Regions from separate parts of the Homo sapiens genome. Here region 2 is linked to region 1. Evidence: promoter capture Hi-C in human tissues and cell types (Jung and others, 2019). All regions are on one chromosome and are shown on one strand. Each heading gives the region's core, a stretch centred on a gene start or on the middle of the fragment in contact. The rest is flanking DNA. Distances are from core to core; before and after follow the strand shown.

Region 1 (4,906 bases), core at 1,465-3,964:
TGAAACTGAGGCTTAGATTAGGTAACTTGTGACTTACACAGAGACACCATTACTCAAACCAGGTTTTTCTAATACTTAAATCCAAGTTCTTGGCCACACACTCACTATTTTGTTAATGGTGCCAAAGAAGCCACCTTCTAGGGTTCATTCTCACCCAGATTTACAGAGATGACTTCTGCCCAGGCTCAGCATGCACCCCGAACTCCAGCCAGCCATTATGCCAATGTACGTCCCTGGACAGGGTGAGGAAGAGTGAGGGGATCAGAACAGCCTACATCCACAAGGGAAAACCGGACCTAAAGGCATCTCCTTACATCAAGGATGTACACACAAACACACACACCACTTCTATTTCTTGACTCGGGCTCTGTCCGCAGAACCAAGTGTGGACCTGGCAGGGGTGAGAGAGGTGAGGCAGGGGAGGAGACACTTGTCACGGTATTAACTGGCTGAATAAAAAGTCTATGATAGTGAAATTTCCAGGAACAGGAGAATCCTTCACACTCTTGCTTGTGATTAGACTGCTTTGTTTGACTTCAGCCTCAGGAGTACCTTTCTGAGCACTGGAAGCTACCGGACACAAGGCAGTCATGGGCCCAGAGCCTGCGACTGGGAGTGGGGAAGAGCAGAGTCAACGATTTCCAAGGGTGCCAAAGCCTTTGGCTGCATTTCATTTCTTTCTGTATGATTCCTGATAGCTGTGTTGGGGTACCGGGCCCTCACAGTAAGTGCTACCACTTTTTCTGTAAATGTTTTGGTTTTATTTATCATTATCATAGCTGCATCTGGGGCAACCACCTTGTGCATACAGGACAATAAATTCCTGAGCCTCCTGGCTTCCCTCCTTCCTCCCTCCTTCTCCCTCTTCTTGGCAAAGGCTTAAACATAGGTGGTGGGGCGGGGGGGGGCGGTAGGGACAGAGACAGAGTTCCAGCTCCTCTTTGCTTCACCCCCTTCCCTCCTCCTCCCTTCTTTCCCATTGCTACACTAAAGGAGTCAGGGCTGTGTCCACCAATATGCTCTGTGACTAGCAGTCAACACAATTTCATACCCAGCCAGTCATTCCGCAGGCATTTTGGATGATAATGTTCCCATTCTCAGTTCCTCTGTGAGAATGTGCATGTCATTTGAAGCTCTGTGCCTCAGTTTCCATAGAAGTAAAACAAAAAGCAAGAATTGAGACTGATCTTTTTCTTGCAAGAATTCACAAGTAATGGATAATGTACAAGAGATGTGGCTGAATAAGAGAACTAGAACAAAGACTTGAACAATTTTCCTATGCAACACTCTTTCCCATGGACAAAGGTATCCCACAAAGTCATACTTCATCGGAGGCTAGTTTGTCCAAAGAAAACTCACATACCAATGCAATAGTGACAAAAAAAAAATTCCTCCATGCCAACTCAGGAAAACAGAAAGCAAGTTGTGCTTAAGCCCATTGTAGGTGTGGGCAGATGCTTCCAAAACCGTCACCCCTTTTCCCTCCTCTATGACTATCTTCAACCCCCAGCAAAGCGGCCTCGCCAGCTGCTAAAGGGTTAATTACCAAAAAGAGGGCATGCTCCCTCCAGAGGCTCCTCTGGAGAGTGCAAAAACAAAACAAAACCAAAAACCAACTAACCACAACAAAAAACATCTTCCCTGGGAATAAATTTGAAGCTTATCAGGTCTTTAAGCCACATTTCCCAGCCCATAGACTCCTGGTCCCTGTCTCCCTTTGCTTTGGGAAACTCATTTACCCCCAAGCCTCCTGAAATGATCCATGTGCCGTGAGATGCCCATAGGGTTGGGGACTTGAAAATGAGTTATTCTCCCACAAAAAATGGCTTAGCTTTGTCTTTTTGGGTGGCTGACAGGAGACATAAAGTATCACTCTCTCTTTTTACCCCTCCTCACAATAGGATGGAATGAGTGTGGAGAAAAACAAAGGTATTGTGGGACCAGGATGGAGTCAACTTGACAATGGACTCTTCAAGGACACCTTCCAGCTCCCATTCTACTAGTAGCTCTATTTGATTTTGTGGGATGTTGTGTTCCTCCAACATATCCGACTTCTGCTTATAAAACAGAAATTAGGAGTAAGAGATTCGCACCGCTAGTTCAGTGGATAATCATCAGTTCTGAAGCATTAAAATCCTTTGCCAACAAGAACGTTTCTTCTAAGGAAGGAAGCATCCTAATCATGAAGCCAGGGTCTCCAGCCCTCCCCTGTCTCCCTCCTCCCCTCCAGGGCTGTGCTCACTCACATCCATGGACATCTCCCTCTGCATAAGTTTCTTGGTCTCCTTTTCACAGAAGTTGAGCATGGCCTCCCGGTTGTACACACCCGTGGACTGTTTCTCCGTCTGGTTTCTCTGCCGCAGCCCCACGGGAACACTCCCGTCTGGGTCCACCACGTCCAGCTCCTTCTCCAGCTCCTCCATCTCCTCGGGAGACAGGGTCTCCAGCAGGCTGTCGATGTCGGGGTCTTCACTCACCTGCCGGCGATATTTGGCTACTCTAGACATCTTGGCAAAATGGGCTGTGGCTGCCAGGGGCTATCAGAGTCCTGGTGGGCAGGGAAGGGAGAGGGGTGAGCTGATCTGGATGCAGCGAGTGGGCTGAGGAGCAAACCTCCTGCTGGTCGAGGACTGCAGCTCCTTGGCCCTTCTGTGCTACAGGTGCTGAAGTGTTCACTGGACGCAGCAGCCTCCCTGAAGCCCAGGGCTAGTGGACCCCGGCTGGTCTAATCAGCGGCCAATAAGACCCGACAACTGCCAGGCCCGGAGAGGAGAAGCCAATCCCCAAGCTGGGGGCGGGCCTACCTCGCTGTCAGAGCTGTTTGAAACTTGAGGACATTCCAGGGAATCTTGGAGCGCTGCGTGACCAAATTTAGTACAGAGCAGTTTAGCCTTTTAAAGACAAGGGGCCACGCAATGAGAAAAAGATACAAAAATGCGTAGGCTGGCAGAAGCAGATCACAGCCACGGAGAGCCAGACAAGCAGGGACGAGGCCATGAGGGCCGGTGAACTCGCCAGCCCGGGGCACGTTCAAGAGCGTATTTTACTACTCCATCACCGGGTGGACGTATCACTGTGGTCAATGTGTGGTTCATGGACTTCCTTCTACAGTATTTGGTAATGTGCTGGGGGGCTCCCAGGTGTATACAGCTCCAGGAAAGTCTAGATTCAAGATGAGGAGCTGTTACTCCTAACCCCCTGCCTACCCATTTTCTTTCTACCCAGGTTCTGCCAAGGAGGACCTGAAGGCTGAGCATCAGAGGCTCCAGGATCCTTTGGCCACTTCTTAAGAGAGAGACAGGAGACAGAAAGACAAACTTAGAGATAGAGATAGCTAGGCAGGAGAGGGAGAGAGAGAGAGAGAGAGAGAGAGAGAGAGAGAGAGAGAGAGAATAAATCCTTACTGTGTACCAAAACTGAAAACTGGCAGGCTGTTTGGGAAAGAGAGAAGGATCTGCAGAAGTCGGGAAACTCTTAAAGGGCTGTCACTTTCCATGAAGTTCCAAGGCTCTTGGGAAGAGGGTTCAAACCTCCCCCTGTTGTCATCTGTTTCTTCCTCTGCCGGGCATCTGTAGACAGACCTCCTTTGGGAGCACAGAGGCAGGTCACCACCCACATATAAATCCAGAGCACGATTTAGTATGTCTTCAGGGAAACAGAATTCTGGGCCGTCGGGAGAGATACGATTGCAACAGGTCTGGCATGTTTCATAGAAGGGCTTTCCACTGCTCATCCATCATGCTGCCCTGCACAAGTCACAGAGACATTCAATCCCCTGCCCCCCTTCCTCCTGCCACAAAATCCCTTCTAGAAGCCCTGGTGTAACCCATCAGGGTAGATGCTTCGATCTTTCCTGGCATCTTTCCATCCTAAGCCAGAGAGAGACAGTCACTTGATCAGCATTTGCTGAGTCCAGGGATCGTCTGGGACTAAAACTTGGCCGTGCCATTTAATGTCCACTAGTCCAACTTTAGGTTAAGGCTGAAGAGGGGAATGGTGTCCACTGGGGGGACTGAAGGGCAGAAGGAAGGCAGGCAGACTTGATAGGAAGAGTGGAAGAAGACTTTAGGGAAACCTGGGGGTTGTCATTTTAAGAGTCAGTAGCCAACTTATTGGTCAAACCGTAGGTATATATTTATTGAGTGATTTATCAAGTGCCTATTATATATCAGGCATTGTTCTAAGAGCAAGAGATATCACTAAAGATACAAAATCAGGCCAGGTGCAGTGGCTCATGTCTGTAATCCCAGCACTTTGGGAGGCCAAGGCAAGAGGATTGCTTGAGTCCAGGAGTTCAAGAACAGGCTGGGCAACATAATGAGACCCCCATCTCTCCAAAAAAAAAAAAAAAACAAAATTAGCCTGATGTGGTGGTGAGCATCTGTTGTCCCAGCTACTCAGGGGGTTGAGGTGGGAGGATTGCTTGAGACCAGAAGGTTGAGGCTGCAGTGAGCTGTGATCACGCTACTGTACTCCAGCCTGGGCAACAGAGTAAGACCCCATCTCAAAAAAGAAAGAAAGAAAGAAAGAAAGAAAGAAAGAAAGAGCGAGCAAGCACAGGGGCTATGGGAAAACACAACAAGAGGAGGCTGAATAGAAGTATGATTTAACAGTGAAGAGCTTGGGCCTTTGAGGCCAATAGACCTGTATTTGGTCCTGGTATTGCTACTTACAGGCCATGTGACTTGGGCAAGCTACCTTCTTTTCTGAGACTTGAGTTCATCATCTGTAAAATAAGGACAACAGTTATACCAACCTTATACAATTGTTGTGAATATTAAATTAGGTCCTACACATGACAACATTTCATTGATATACCCAGTACATGGTAAACACCATATTTATTATTAATTATTATAATTATTTATTTATTTATTTATTGGGAAACTCTGTTTCACTCTTATTG
Region 2 (4,906 bases), core at 1,157-3,656, 97 kb before region 1:
TCCACCCACCTCGACCTCCCAAAGTGCTGGGATTACAGGCGTGAGCCACCACGCCAGGCTCCATGTTTCAATTACCACATTAATTGGTCTAAGAGGAAGGTGTTGTCATCTTGGAAGAGAAGATGGCTGGAAGGTGCTATGCAGTGACTGGAAAAAGTGTAAGGGTGTTGAAACTTCATTGTAACAAGGCATGTCCTGCAAGCCAACTTGTTTCTTTTACTTGGAGGAATCAGTCTTAGCAGTTATCAGCTCTTTTTGAAACAACAGATTAAGTTTCTTTCTGGAATCTTGTTGGCATCAGGGTTAGAGCTTAGTAAATTTCTATGGCTTTCCTAGGTACTCTTAGACTCAATAAAATTTTCTCTTTCAGAATTTGGTGTTCACTTGGCAGAACTGACTGTAGATCCCCAGGGGGCACTGGCAATCCGTCAGGTAAGTCCAGACTGGCCCAATTTATAAATAGTTTCCCTTTCCTTGGTAATGAAACTTTCTTATAGGAAAGAAAAATAAGGCCAGTGTATAAATAACCTAGGATGTTGTGCCAGATTTAGATATACTTCAGATGTATCAGGCTATGTATATAGTTTTTATGTGTGAAAAAAATCTTTTTCTTGCTGTACTACTTGGCTTATTCTCTTCACAGCTGGCATCAGTCATCTTGAAACAATATGTGGAGACTCACTGGTGTGCCCAATCAGAGAAATTTAGGCCTCCTGAAACTACAGAAAGGGTAAGTCAGTTACTTGATTAGTCTACCTGAGGAGATTTGAGGGTCCATTTTAAGAGATTAGACTATAACATTCTTTGACAGCATGGAGCAATCAAAAGACTAGGCAGAAAAGGAGATTGGTGGCTGGCATTGCGGGCATAGGGCTATACATTAAAGAGCTCAAGTATCAGGCTGGTCTGTGTTCAAATTCCAGTTTTGCTTTTTACAAGCTATGAGATCATTGGAAATGTAGTTAACACCTAAGCCTCAATTTCCTAAATCTCCAAAGTGAGAATAAAAATACCAACTAAGGGTTTAAGAATTAAATGAAATAACATTTGTACTTAGTGCAGTACTGTGCAGTCATCCTGAGTCCCCAAGAAATTTTGAGGTATAAGGTCTGGAGGAATGTTTTCCACTGGAGCTTTATGCAATTATGGAAATATTCTGTGTCTGTGCTGCCTAAAACAATAGCTACTAGCTGCATATGGCTGTTGAGCACTTAAAATGGGGCTAGTGCAACTGAGGAACTGAATTTTAAATTTTTTAAAATGTTAATAGCTATGTATAGCTAGTGGCTACTGTAATGGACTGCATAAGTTTAGAGATCACAGATGAACCCTCCAAATGAATTGTCAAGTTTGTGTATAGGAGTTTTCTGTAGACATGCAGTACCTTGTACTCATTGTTTTTCCAACACAGTTCCCAATTGAACTGGGCTCTGCCAGTCACTTTTAACCTGATCTAATAGCAGGTGGACTTTTATCCCTTACAGGCAAAAATTGTTATCCGGGAGCTATTGCCTAATGGGTTGAGAGAATCGATAAGCAAAGTGCGCTCCAGTGTGGCCTATGCAGTGTCAGCCATTGCCCACTGGGACTGGCCTGAAGCTTGGCCCCAACTCTTCAACCTGCTCATGGAGATGTTGGTGAGCGGAGACTTAAATGCCGTCCATGGAGCCATGCGTGTGCTGACAGGTACCAGAAGCCCTTTTCCCTGGTATTGGTACTTGGATCTCAAGCGACAGGAGTATTACCAGAAGCTATGTGATATAATGGCCTGGACCAGTAGGAATTGCTGCTGATGTTATTCCTCCCTCCTAGTTTTTATCTCTCCATCTACCCTCCAGCTCTATTGTTTTTTTCTAGGGAATTAAGTTTGTATAGTATTACTTCTACTCCCAAACCTACCACTTACAGATACAGTATTAGCATAGTGATGGAGTATTCAGATTTTGGATTTTTGTAGTGGCTTCACCTTGATCCTTCACTTACCTTCTTTGAGCCTGAGTTTCCTTTTATATAAAATTAAGATGATAGTAGTGTCTGCATCAAAGGAGCTTTTGGTATAGTTTAAATGTTAGCTAATCTATCTTTATTGACTTGTTCAGTAAAGTTTAGTTACTATGATTATCATTATTACTATATATTATTTGTCCACTTAGTTCAACCAAGGCAAAGTTAAGAATTGTAAAATGGATTTTTATAGAAGTATTTAAAAAGAAGATAAAAACAGTATAGCCATGTAATCCTGACCTTCATTTAGCCAGTTAGAGAATATGTAGTCTCAGTATCTTTTCCTTCTCTCTGTTCTGAGAAGTTGATAAAAATACTTCAACTTTTAGTTCAAAGAGATTTGATGGATATCTCTTCTAAACCTGATTAAGCTATCAATCCCTCCCAGAATCTGCTTTCATATATCCTTAGGGATGGCCTGAGTTTCCCAGTCCTTTGCAAGTTCCTCCCTGCTTCTTATTCCCTAAATGAAGTCACTACTCTGTTTTGCCTTCAAGAAATTCTTACCTGGACTTTAGTCATCCTGTACTGATCCTTTAGAAATCATCTTTCTCCTTTGTTCATATAGGTTTGTAGAAGTCCCACCAATATCTTATCTCTTTTTCTATGACCTGCTAGCTTACCTGATATGTATTCTTGCTTAGTTGTGAATGCCAATTCTATTCTTTCTCAATCTCAGTTTACTGAACTTGGCACATAGGCCCAATTTTGCTAGTCCATGTGATGTTAATGGTAGATAATATCAACTCTTTGTCAAATGCAAATCTTTCTTCTCCTTTTGTTTCAAAATGACCTCTTCTCAGACCCCAGCTGCCTTTTTGAATTACCCACTATATTCGTATTGATTGCCTGTGACAAAGCTTCAGTTTTTAGCTCAGATACCGAACAGACTTACCAAAAAGATCAGAATGTTCCTTGCTCAGATTTTGACTTCTCTGCTTATTGCCCTTTCTTCTGCTTAATGACTCATTCATTATTCAGGTGATTTCACACACCCCTCTGCATGGAATTGGCCTTTTAGGATTCTTTATTCACCACTTCATAGTGCCAGGATATCAATTAACAGATACATGTTCTACCAAGGAAAGGAAGCCTGTTCCCTCTCAGTCTTCCAAGATGAAATTCAGGTTCTTTTGACAAACCTAGAGAGAAAGGTTTTGTACATTTATCTTGATTTGGATGCTGAAGAGCTCTTATTGTGTTTGACTAAGGAAATTACTGTTCAGTGAGATCACTTTTCTGCCAGCCACAGGGAAAGAACTGTTGGGGGAAATTTGTCTCCTTTTGTAATGGAGTCACCAGACATGGAGTGGCTAGCAGCCAAGCCCCATTCCCAAATACTTGCTCCAAATATTTTCAAACGAGAGTAGACTGTACTCTGACAACAAAAACTTAGGCATGCATGAAGATAGCAGGACATTGGTGGTTGGACAGAGGCCCATTAGGAGAATGGGACTGATTCTTTTCAGAGTTTTTCAAGATACTATACCAGTTTCCCTTTAATGAGGCTTCCTATTAAACTTATCTATTTATAGATGAGAACCAACTAAGGCTCATGGTGTAAAGGAAATGCAAATATAGCAGCTAAGGATTAGAAGATTTGATCCACCAGATACAGCTTTTTCTTCGTTCTCAAAGAAGTTTGGAGATTGAGATGTTGCTGGAGTCCTAGAATTTTTCTGACTTGCTGAATCACCTCAGAAAACTTTTGGAATTAAACCTATAAAGTATTAATAAATTGATACCAGGGATGAGTATAGGAGAGTAAAAAGCAGTCAAGCACTTTATTAGCAGAATTAAATTATACTGTATTTTTCATAAAACTTGTTATTATGCCATCTATCATATTTGTTTGGACTAATTTCCTTGAATTTCTAAATAAAATAGAACACTCACCATTCAAAGCTCAGACTTTATCCTTGAGGAGGAAATTACAGCTGTAAAGAAAATTCAACCTTGAGTATTTGATCTTCATTTGACTCGTGGGGATTGATATTGTTCAAAATTGTGGAGTACCTTAATCTTGAAAATGCCAGCTTGCGTTTGTAGCTGTGTATCTTCCCCCAAAATGTCCCAAGTGGTTAGCTTTATTTTTAGTTTTATTTATTTATTTATTTATTTGAGACATGGTCTCACTCTGTCACCCAGGCTCAGGTACAGTGGCACTGTTGTAGCTCACTGTAACCTTGACCTCCTGGGCTCAAGCGAGCCTCCTGCCTCAGCATCCTAAGTAGCTGGGACTGCAGACACATGCCACCACATGCAGCTTTTTTTTTTTTTTTTTTAAATGTACTGGCAGATCTTGCTATGTTCAAGCTGGTCTTGAACTCCTGGCCTCAAGTGATCCTCCTGCCTCAACCTCCCAAAGCTCTGGGATTACAGGTATAAGCCACTGTTCCCGGCCCATATGTCCATTTCTATAGTGATAACGTGGAAAAGCATCAGGTAAAGTGGATAGTTACTGGAACTCAAGAGCTTTATTCTGCTGCTTTGTAACATGAATCCAGGGTCCTTTGTGCTGTCTCAGTGCCTTGTGTGTGGTGTATTTGGTTTTTTTTTTTTTGAGACGTGAAGGGAAAGATACGACCCATATTTCCGTCACCTTCGAGTCTCATTCTGTGTATAGGTTGCTTTTTGTCACATTTATATAGAAAATTCCCATTTGTTCCAGTTAGCAGCAGCCTCTGACTTTTAGGTCAATAAAATCTGAGAAGAGTAACATATACAAAGAGGAGTTGAGGCCTAGTAAGTCTGTACATATTTTATTACATGCATCAAACCAGCTTGCCAAGCGAAAGTACTGAAAACAGAAGCAAAGGTAAGAAACCTCGAAGTGTAACTGAATGTTGACAGATGGGCACAAGATAAATTAATACAGAATTTTCCCAAGTTGACCTCACAA

What was found. Contacts are between HindIII fragments. The study calls those that stand out against the background at their distance.
Region 2: a contact is called between a fragment that was not itself captured here and the fragment with the promoter of LMOD1 in region 1, in 3 of the 25 tissues and cell types used here (IMR-90 fibroblasts, bladder and hippocampus).

Annotation. Positions count from the first base shown.
Region 1 is chr1:201,943,834-201,948,739 of GRCh38, forward strand. It overlaps LMOD1 (leiomodin 1), which reads right to left and starts at 2,715. Exons shown (of 3, transcript NM_012134.3): 1 at 2,247-2,715. The coding sequence starts at 2,507. The HindIII fragment of the contact is 9,839 bases long and covers 1-4,906 here.
Region 2 is chr1:201,846,909-201,851,814 of GRCh38, forward strand. It overlaps IPO9 (importin 9), which reads left to right. Exons shown (of 24, transcript NM_018085.5): 2 at 371-432; 3 at 644-730; 4 at 1,485-1,686. Among named protein-coding and RNA genes, the nearest start is that of MIR6739, 14 kb to the right of the region's middle. The HindIII fragment of the contact is 5,341 bases long and covers 1-4,906 here.